Linked DNA regions of Homo sapiens: region 1 is linked to region 2. Evidence: promoter capture Hi-C in human tissues and cell types (Jung and others, 2019). All regions are on one chromosome and are shown on one strand. Each heading gives the region's core, a stretch centred on a gene start or on the middle of the fragment in contact. The rest is flanking DNA. Distances are from core to core; before and after follow the strand shown. Region 1 overlaps NXPE2 (neurexophilin and PC-esterase domain family member 2). Region 2 holds the start of C11orf71 (chromosome 11 open reading frame 71).

Region 1 (4,944 bases), core at 1,357-3,856, 310 kb before region 2:
GTTGAAGGAATTTGAGATGGTCTTCATGGGAAAACGATAACTCATTTAAGCAATTAACATTGCAATGGTTGGAAGAATAATTAAATTTACTTTCAAAGTTTCCTAAAGGAGGAATTAGAACCAATAAGTAGCTTGATACAAGGAAGAAATTTCTAACGTGAGTTCCCTATTTAGAGAAGTCTGGTGCTAAAGTGTATGACCCAGACTTATGACCTAGGCTTTTCTTTTCTTTTCTTTTCTTTTCTTTTTTTTTTTGAGATGGAGTCTCGCTCTGTCACCCAGGCTGGAGTGTGGTGGTGCAATCTTGGCTCACTGCAACCTCCACCTCCTGACGACCCAAACTTTGTACTGATGTTACAGCATTATAACTTCACTTCCTCTAACTAAGAAACACAGTCCTAAGAGGGGAAGTATCCTTAATAACAATATTCCTACTCTTGAGACCTAGAGTATATTAATAGAAAGGGTGTATATCTTTCTAATGAGAGGAAGATTTAGAGACAAAATTTGTCATTTGAGGCCCTCTGGAGGGGATCCCAAATCATATTTTAGGATATCCAAGAATCAAGGTTTTGGGGTCTGTACGTTAACATAATACTAAGTTGTTTTCTCTCAATGAGCCTGTGGGTTTTGAAGTGTGATCCATGATTCTTACTGGAATCTAGAGAACAACTGGTTACTAAGTTCCAAATAATTTTCCTAAGCAAGAAGACTGCTATTATGATCCCACTAAGTTTTCCTGTATACATCACATTTTCTCTAAACTTGAATCATTTAATCTATGCATTTCTGGGCTGCACATGTCTTCAAATTATGGGTGATGATGATTTGCTATTCAATCATCATGCTCAGCACTGGAGACATGCCTTTAAATTTGGTTTTCTCTTCCTAGAAGCACTATTTACAGTAGCCAAAAGGGGAAACAACCCAAATGTCGATCAACAAATGAATGGATAAACAAAATGTAGTACATACTTACAACGGAATATTATTCAGTCTTAAAAATGAAGGAAAATTCTGACAAATGCTACAATATGGATGAACCTTAAAGACATATGCTAAGTGAAATACGCCAGACAGAAAAGGACAAATGCTGCATGTTCCCACTTATATGAGCTACCTAAAATAGTCAAATTCAGAAGGACAGAAAATACAATGGCGGTTGCCATGGGCCAAGGACAGGAGCGAATGGGGAGTTATTGTTTAATAGGTACCAAGTTTCTTTTTGGAATGTTAAAAATGTGCCAGAGATGGATCATGATGAGGGTTTCACAACATTGTAAATTACTTAATATCACTGAATTGTACGCTTAAAAATGGTTTATAGCCAGGTGTGGCGCTGCACACTGGTGATCCCAGCTACGTGGGAGGCTGAGTCAGGAGAATCGCTTGAACCCGGGAGGCAGAGGTTGCAATGAGCTGAGATCATGCCACTGCACTCCAGTCTTGGTGACAGAGTGAGACTGTCTCGAAAAATAAAATAAAATAATGCCGGGCATGGTGGTTCATGCCTGTAATCCCAGCACTTTGGGAGGCCGAGGTGGGCAGATCACCTAAGGTCAGGAGTTCGAGACCAGCCTGGCCAACCAGATAGTGAAACCCCATCTCTACTAAAAAATACAAAAATCAGCTTGGCATGGTGGTGGGCACCTGTAATCCCAGCTACTTGGGAGGCTGAGGCAGGAGAATCACTTGAACCTTGGAGGTGGAGGTTGCAGTAACCCAAGATCACATCACTGCACTCCAGTCTGGGCAACAGGAGCAAAACTCTATCTCAAAAATAAAATAAAATAATAAAATGGCTTAAATGGTAAATGTTATGTTACATATATTTAACTTTAATAGAACTTTTTCAAATTTAGTTTCCTCAAAACTTGGATTGCATTAAACTATCTTCGCTGTATATGTGAGATCATCTATAGAAAGTGGCTAGTGCTATTTTTGTATTTTTCCTCTAACAAATGTAGTTTAAGAACATGCCAATCTGATTTTGAATCACATAATCCGGTGGATGGGCATTGTTGGTGCAATATGCAATCGTCATGTCCCAGGCATCAATAATACCCACATTAAGATCCACAAAAATATCTCTTATGATAAGATTCTGAATATAGCCATGAAAGTCACTGAACATCTCTGCATTTTGTTCTATCTCTCTGGTGTTTTCAGTTTTAAGTATCACCTTGGTCTCCGGGCTTCGCAAGAATAGACGTTCAATGGCCTTTTGAATATTGATGGCCCTACGGATGAAAATGTTGATGGGAAAGGGTCTGAAGTGTTGGCCGAGGGTAATGACAATGGCTGTGTTTTTGTCTCCTGCTACCTGGTCAATTTCCCGTGGGATATAGTTTTCATCTTTCACTGAGAATAATTTTTTGGTAACAAATGGATGACCATGTTTTTTCCACTGAATCAAAATATGTCTTTCAACATCCAGAAGAACATGTGTTTTAAAGATCCCAGCTCCATGATGATCAAAATATTTTAGGGCTGATGAAAGACAAATCAATAAATATTTTAACAAAAGGAAAATGATATAACTTTAAACTGCACACAACATGTATAAAATTCTAACCAAGATCACTTCTAACTAAGCACTATTGCCTATGTAAGGTGGATAATTTTACCAGGTGCATTACAATCTTAACAAAATATTGAACTTGTTATGAGAATACATGAAGAGGAAGAAAAATATTAACATTTGTGAATGAAAAGATAAAATTTAACTTTTTATTAAAAGCCCAAAGCCAAAAGTTAGGCAAATTTAAAATAAAATAAAATAAAATAAAATAAAATAAATATTAGAAAAGAAAAGCAAATAATTCTAATTATTATTTCAAAACCCTCAAAAGTCAAATAGAATTTCAAAATATAAATTAAATACATACTTTTCACAGCTTTTTGTAAGTAGTAAATCCACTGATGCAGTGTTGAATCTCCCATGAGATAAATAAGTTTTCTTTCCAAGCAGTCATTTATATTTTTTGTTTCATTGAACTTGATCTGTTTACAAAATGCTGTAATCCACATTTTTTTCAAAGTATAACCACTGGGGAAAGGAGTCTTCATTCCAATCTGGCAGTTCTTTTTTATGTTCTCGCTCTCTGGCAATACAAATTTCCAGATTAAGTAATTTTTATTACCACAAATTATTTTGGAAAAATGTTTCTCATTTTTGCCTTCCTTTTCCTCTTTTTCCTCCCCCTTTCTCTTCAGCTCTATTTTGCCTTCCTCTCTTCCACAAATATTTATTTAATAAGATCATGTTAAAAGGGTGAATTAAATAGCTTTTCTTGAATAGTTTTTCTTGGAGTGGGGATCTGTTGACTCTTGTGCATTTGCAATGTGTCCCTGGGCTCCACCTTGTCCCCAGAGCCACGCTGCTGTGGAACAGCCAGCCAGAGTCAGGAGGAAATGTGTGGCCGTGAAATAGCAGGGCACAGTGGCCCTGCCAAATATTACACCAATGACATTGGCCTCGCTGAATTGTAAATCTCATCTTCCTCAAACTACTAATCCAGGAAAAGAAGCTTGAATGTGTTTATGAAATGAGTGTGTCACATTGTTTATTTTGTGTGTCCCAGAATCATCTTCTCTGGCTAATACTTTTTTTAAAATCCTTAAATCTTAATTGTCATGTCTAGAACTGAATGTAATATTCTCAGTGTGATCTGACACAGAAAAAAGTAGGATCATGACCTCCCTGTTCTGAACACTCCTCTATTAAAATAGCCTAAACTGTATTTACTGACTCCTATTGAGTTTTCCCCCAGGTAAGTTTCTGAGGCCACTTCTATATTCACCACTTAAAATGCACATCTTCTTTGTCATCTACCTGCATTGTTGGGATATGGGGTACACATTGAGGAACTTACATTTGTTCGTATTGAATAACATCAGATTTGTAAGTGGCTCCAAAAATTACAGTCTGGTACTATCTTCCAAGAAACTGCCTGACTTTACTAGAAATTACTGTCCAGGCAAGAGGGAAATAAAAGAGGTGTTACAAACATTCAAATTGCCTCAAGAATCTAAGAACTTTCTTCAGTGTAAAAGTTGGGTGTGAATGATAGTTGCCCTAGCAGAGAAGGGATCTGTCTTCTTCATAGATTGTGAACTTTACATCTGGGTTCATGATTTATTTGTGTTTATGTTCTCCACAGGGTTTAGCAAATTTCTTTGTACAGTAGGACCTCAGTAAACACTTGCTAAATGCATGAAAAAGGGGTGATGAGTAATGGTACACCCCGTTGATTGTTATAATGGAAGTCCTTTGCTTTACTTTAATTTTGAAATTCACTTCATTTCCCGTGTAGCAGAATCATCACTTCTATGAGTGAAATGGTTTTGTGTTGACCACTAAAGTTCATATGATTAAACTGAGAAAAAATTCACAGAAATTCTAGTTCATAGAACTTCAAGTAAGATGGCTTGGCTAAATGAGAAATTAGAAACCACCAAAGAAATGTCCTAACTCTGAATCTGTGCAGCTCATCTGAGACATTTTTCACATAGCACCAGCACCTGATCATTGGCTCTGGAGGAATAAATCTAAATTTAAATACAAATAGCCTGTACATTTTGAGGCAGTGCCACTGAAGTTAATGGTTTCCCTAGCCTTTTATATCTGACTTGGGATGAAAATTGGTTTAAATCGATATGAAAATAATTTCCAAGAATAAAATCCCTTCTCTAAAACCCAAGGTGGTTGATGTAATTTGTCCCAGGAAATGAGAGATCAAATCGTTAATGTGGAATAAATATCTCTAAGTAAGCATGTCCTTTCCGTGGATAAATTGTGATCATGGCAGACAACAACACTCCAGACTTACTGTTGCATGGTATGACCTCAATGGGGGTAAAGTTCTTCATCATTTCAACTCCTATGTTGGACCTGCAAGAAATGGGAAAATAAATTAGCTTAATATCTGCCCAGATAATAAA
Region 2 (5,148 bases), core at 2,454-4,953:
TCTTGCCCCCTCCAATCCATTCTCCCACTGCAACCAAACAACTCTTAAAATATAAACTTGTTCCTATCAGTACCCTACCTAAAACATTTCACTGCCTTCCTACTCCATTTTAGGGTAAAATCTCAAAATCCTGATTATAGTTTAAAAGACCCTCTCCAGCCTATCTACCAAAATCCCCTACTGCTCTCCATTTTCATTCATTATGATCTAGGTACACTGGCTTCTTTCAGTTCCACATTCATCTATATCATCTCCTTCTCTTAAAATTTTCTCAAAGCCCTTTGTACTCTTTCTTTAGAGAACTTATTACAGTAATTGAACAGGTATTCACAAAAATATATATAATATGTGTCTTCATTTAGACTTTAAGCTCCTCTAGATAATACATCATAGTGGCTGGGCTCAATCACACTACACTGCCTGGGTTTGAATCCCAGCCCACTGAACCTGAGCAAGTTAACCTCCATTTTTCATTTCCCTTCATATAAGAGGTAGAGATAAAAATAATCCCTACCCTCATAAAACTGCTGTGAGGAATAAATGAAATCATATATGTAAAAGATATGGTGAAGAACCTGACATATGGCAGGTATTTATTAAATCTTTCTTAAATGACTGTTAAATAGCTTTATGGATATACCGGGAAAAATTGTCCCTGGTAAAATATGAACCTCCCCAAAGCAAATAAAATCATTTAAGTAAATATGATATTTTCTAATACTCAGTACCTGAAGAGATTTTACAAATCATTTAATTCAACTTATTTTCCTTACACATGGGAAGACGGGACTAAAGAAAGGAGACTAGCTCAAGATTACACAATTGATAGATGCAGACCTAGAATCCAATTCTAGGAATTCTTAGTCCAATAGACTGTTGACTAACTGGTATTTTTCAACTGTAAGTAACAACCAATTAATGACTGTAAAATAAATTTTAAAATGTTTTAAATGAAATAGTAATCCAAGTAGTGAGGGTAAATAATGTTTTGAGAAATTTTGTTTCAAGTGTATACATGTACTGTACACATATGTGGGTATGGTTATGTCGCTACAAATCAACAAATAGTTATATACGTATCTATTCTAAGGGGACTATATACAATGTGTTTGTCTATAGAATAGACACATTCTATACCCCTTAGAATAGATACATAACAACAACCCCAAAAGGCAAGTAATAACGGCAGAATGAAGAGATAAGAGAATAATGAAGGAGACTATTTACTCATGTGTTTTGAGGCTATTCCCTATAAGAATTCCTGATAAATGATCTTAACAATAAGTGAGAAATATTACCTGCTAGGAGATGTGGAGGTAGGGCTTGAATTTCCAACATGATGTTGGGGATATGACAAACTGACATCTTGTGGGGCATGACTACTTCCTAAAATGAAACAATTTGAAAAATTATTCTTGATAGAAAATCTAATTTGAAATTTTGTCTTCCCCACTTGAAATCACTCCAAAAAGGTAAACACAATCTAAAAGAGAAAAATCTCAAACTACTGGCCGGGCGCGGTGGCTGACGCCTGTAATCCCAGCACTTTGGGAGGCTGACGTGGGCACATCTCTCGAGGCCAGGAGTTCGAGACCAGCCTGACCAACATGGTGAAACCCCACCTCTACTAAAAATACAAAGAATTAGCCAGGCGTGGTGGCGTGCACCTGTAATCCCAGCTACTCAGGAGGCTAAGGCAGGAGAATCACTTGAACCTGGGAGGCAGAGGTTGCAGTGAGCTGAAATTGCACCACTGCACTCCAGCCTAGGCAACAGGGCAAGACTCCATCTCAAAAAAAAAAAAAAAAAAAAAAAAAAAAAAAAAAAAAAAGAATCTCAAGCTGCTGTAGACCGCTTTACGGCTTCATCGGGGTGAAAATTATAAGTGTATAATATCAGATAAGCAAAACAAAGCACTCCATAAATATCCAATCTGACCATAATTTTCTGATCTCCACCCTAAATTGTAACACTGGATACATGGACAGTTTCATCCTCACATGATCAAGAACCAAAATATATAAAAGTAATTACAAAGCAGCCAGGAGAAGTATTTTCAGAAAATAAACCTAGCTCTTTTCAGAGTACCCAAGCCCAGCTCTCTTAGTGATACAGTTTATGTTTTTTCACTAACCCAAAATGAAACTTTAAGCTCAGTTTTGAAATTCTAATTTCAAAATCCATGTGTCAATGTTACCCGTTTTCAGGGATATATAAAGTTTGCTATATAAAGTTTACTATTCACAATGCTTAAGAAAGAAGTTTCATCTACAAATAAGAGGTTCTTTAAAACTGAATAATAAATTTAAAAACAGCAGGAAACAATGCCCCCCGAACCTCATTGGGCAGTTACCTGATCTAAATTGAATTTTGATAGGCCTTCCATAAAGTTTGATTCCATTAAGTAGATTCATTGCATAAGGAACAGACACTTCATGTTTGAAATTCACAAACGCAAACTGCTTTGGTTTACCATCCTTATCTTTTGGAATTTTCACCTTTATTACTGGCCCAGCCTACAAACAAAAAGGTGTTTAGAATTTAAATAAAGCAACTAAGGGAAAATACTCAAATTTTACAAATAAGATATGACAAAGTTTAAAAACAACAGAAACGTAATCAGAAACTTCTTTTGAAAATGATGCACGGATTTCCATTTTGGCTACAGTAAACATCCTAGTTATGACTGAACATTAGATTTATTTGGGGAAGGGGGCCCATAAGGAACTGGAAACACAATCACTTTTGCAATTCACAGCACTGTATGGCTTAACATAGTGACCAATCGCCATTATTTTGCCACTCCATGAAAATGAACATTTATCAAGAACAAGAGAATGATTTTCTTTAACTAAAAACGGACTTTTGTATTGATTAATCAAACAATACCAGTTATTAGGGGATAGGGATGGGGGGAATAGGATACTCAGAATTTTTCACACTTTTTAATACAGCAACACTAAAATGCTGTTTTTCTACGGAGTACTTAACCATTTTATTTTACATATTTTAATAATGCTGCAATTTGATAAGCAAACTTTAGGGGAAAACAGACACAAATAAATTAAAATATTAAGTTCCCAGTCAGATAAACCAAAGACAAATTATCCTAAGGGGAAGATGACAACAGGAAGGATAAGAAAAAGCACTGCTCAACGAAGACCCTACACACACACTGTGTTCCCAAGGACCCCTGGATCTCTACCACGGGAAACCTGATCGAGGATCCCTCCACCACCTTTAGTCGTCACTTTCGGCCTAAACGAACCAAGATCTTCCAGGAAAGCGACACCCAGCGAGCGTTTCGCAACCCAGACCCGCCTTTCACCCCCAAACAGCCACCCGTCGGGTCCCCTGACGGCTACGAAAAGAAAACGGGGTGGCCGCTGGCCAGGCCCTAGGCGAGACGGAAAACGAAAGGCAAAGGGCCGAACCCAGCCGCTTACCTGGTGGAAAAGCTCGAAAAGGAGCTCCTCGGTCACTTTCGTTTCAAGGTTGCCCACAAAGAGAGTGCGATCCGCTTCCGCCGCCGCCGCCCCCATCTCAGCGTCGCCCCCTCCCTAACCTGGCCAAAAGGTCGTGGCCGACGCACCCACTGCGCATTCACGGAAGCCCCACGTCCTCACGCTCCCTGGCGTCACAAACGAAAACGCCCGTTGCGCTTGCTCTCAGCGGGCGACGACGTGCGCGGACGGTCTGCGCATGCTCGCCAGGATACCCCTCGTTAAAGGCAAGGCGGCTTCTGGCTCTTCCGCAGGCTCAGTTATGGGTTCCTGTGTGCTTAGTCATCGGGTCCGACACAGGCTGGACTGATCTGGGGAGCCGCGAAGGGCCTGCCTTCACAAAGGGACGTAACGCAAGTACTGCGGGCAGTGTTTGAATATGGCCCTGAACAATGTGTCCCTGTCCTCCGGTGATCAGAGGAGCAGGGTGGCCTACCGCTCTTCCCATGGCGACCTCAGACCGCGGGCGTCAGCGTTGGCGATGGTCTCCGGAGACGGCTTCCTCGTTTCCAGGCCTGAAGCGATTCATCTAGGACCTCGGCAGGCGGTGCGACCAAGCGTTCGGGCCGAGAGCCGTCGAGTGGATGGTGGCGGCCGGAGCCCAAGGGAACCAGATGGCCGGGGCCGGAGCCGCCAAGCCAGATTCTCACCTTACCCAATCCCTGCCGTTGAACCCGATCTCCTAAGAAGTGTGCTGCAACAGCGTTTGATTGCATTAGGAGGTGTTATCGCAGCTCGAATTTCAGTTTAAACGAACACCTTTCCTCTGGCCCTCACTTAGCTTGTGAACAGGCCTTTTTAAAATCCTTTCTTGGTGTAGCAGCAATCGTGTTGTTTTATTTTTAGATGGATGTATTTTCATTTAATACGTGGGAGTTATATGAATATGTCCTAGCACTAAGGGAAGTGTAACAGTTGATTGATTTAGGTGGTTTTATGCAGCCAGAACGATTGGATCAGGAAAGGTGTGGAAGGGATATTCTTAGGTCGTCACAAAGCTGAGCTGATGGGAGCACCCTCCCCAGAGGTCAACAATCCATTCGTTAACTCAGACACTTAACCTTTACCTTTACTTCTGTTGGCGAAAAAGAAGTGCTCCTTTTTATTACACTGATTTATCCTTCCATCTTTTCCTTGGCATTTACCATCTTCCATCTCCCCCTTCACTTTTTTCAGATATGTCTACAAACAGACTCCAATCTCAGTCGCACTAAAAATAAGAACAAAACCTAAACCTTACAGTTCTTTCAAATTATTAAATCAATTTATTATTCCTTTCTTTGGCAAAGGTTCCAAATTTTTACTTTATATTTGTAATTTTACTATTTGCATTCAGTCCCAGCGCATTAATCTGAATCTGCTGTCCTAAAATACACTGGTGAAAACATTACTTGTACAATCTCCTATCAGAAAACTGTTCATCTACTCACTGTAGTGCCCTCCTTGAAATGTGTGTTTGTTCATTCAACTAACAATATTTGGGGATCCCTGTAGTAAACACTGTATGAATTTTACACAGTCTGGCCATCAAGAAAGATCACGGAGTATATTCTAGATGGGGAGGCTACTAAGTGAATAGGAATCACCACGCTGGGCTGTTTATTAGGTACAGTAATAAACATAAGTACTGGTTGCAGTGACTTTT

Evidence for each region. The method cuts DNA at HindIII sites, captures the fragments that hold promoters and counts their contacts. A contact is called where the count stands out against the background at its distance.
Region 1: a fragment that was not itself captured here is called in contact with the fragment with the promoter of C11orf71 in region 2 in 1 of the 25 tissues and cell types used here (mesendoderm cells).

What each region holds. Positions count from the first base shown.
Region 1 is chr11:114,703,941-114,708,884 of GRCh38, reverse strand. It overlaps NXPE2 (neurexophilin and PC-esterase domain family member 2), which reads right to left. Exons shown (of 6, transcript NM_182495.6): 4 at 4,833-4,894; 5 at 2,889-3,104; 6 at 1,816-2,490. The coding sequence ends at 1,955. Among named protein-coding and RNA genes, the nearest start is that of NXPE2, 28 kb to the right of the region's middle. The HindIII fragment of the contact is 6,972 bases long and covers 1-4,944 here.
Region 2 is chr11:114,399,066-114,404,213 of GRCh38, reverse strand. It overlaps C11orf71 (chromosome 11 open reading frame 71), which reads left to right and starts at 3,703. Exons shown (of 1, transcript NM_001271562.2): 1 at 3,703-5,148. The coding sequence starts at 3,883. The coding sequence ends at 4,254. It overlaps RBM7 (RNA binding motif protein 7), which reads right to left and starts at 3,548. Exons shown (of 5, transcript NM_001286045.2): 1 at 3,447-3,548; 2 at 2,354-2,516; 3 at 1,299-1,386. The coding sequence starts at 3,542. RefSeq lists enhancers at 3,376-3,918, 3,816-4,205, 3,919-4,461. The HindIII fragment of the contact is 14,324 bases long and covers 1-5,148 here.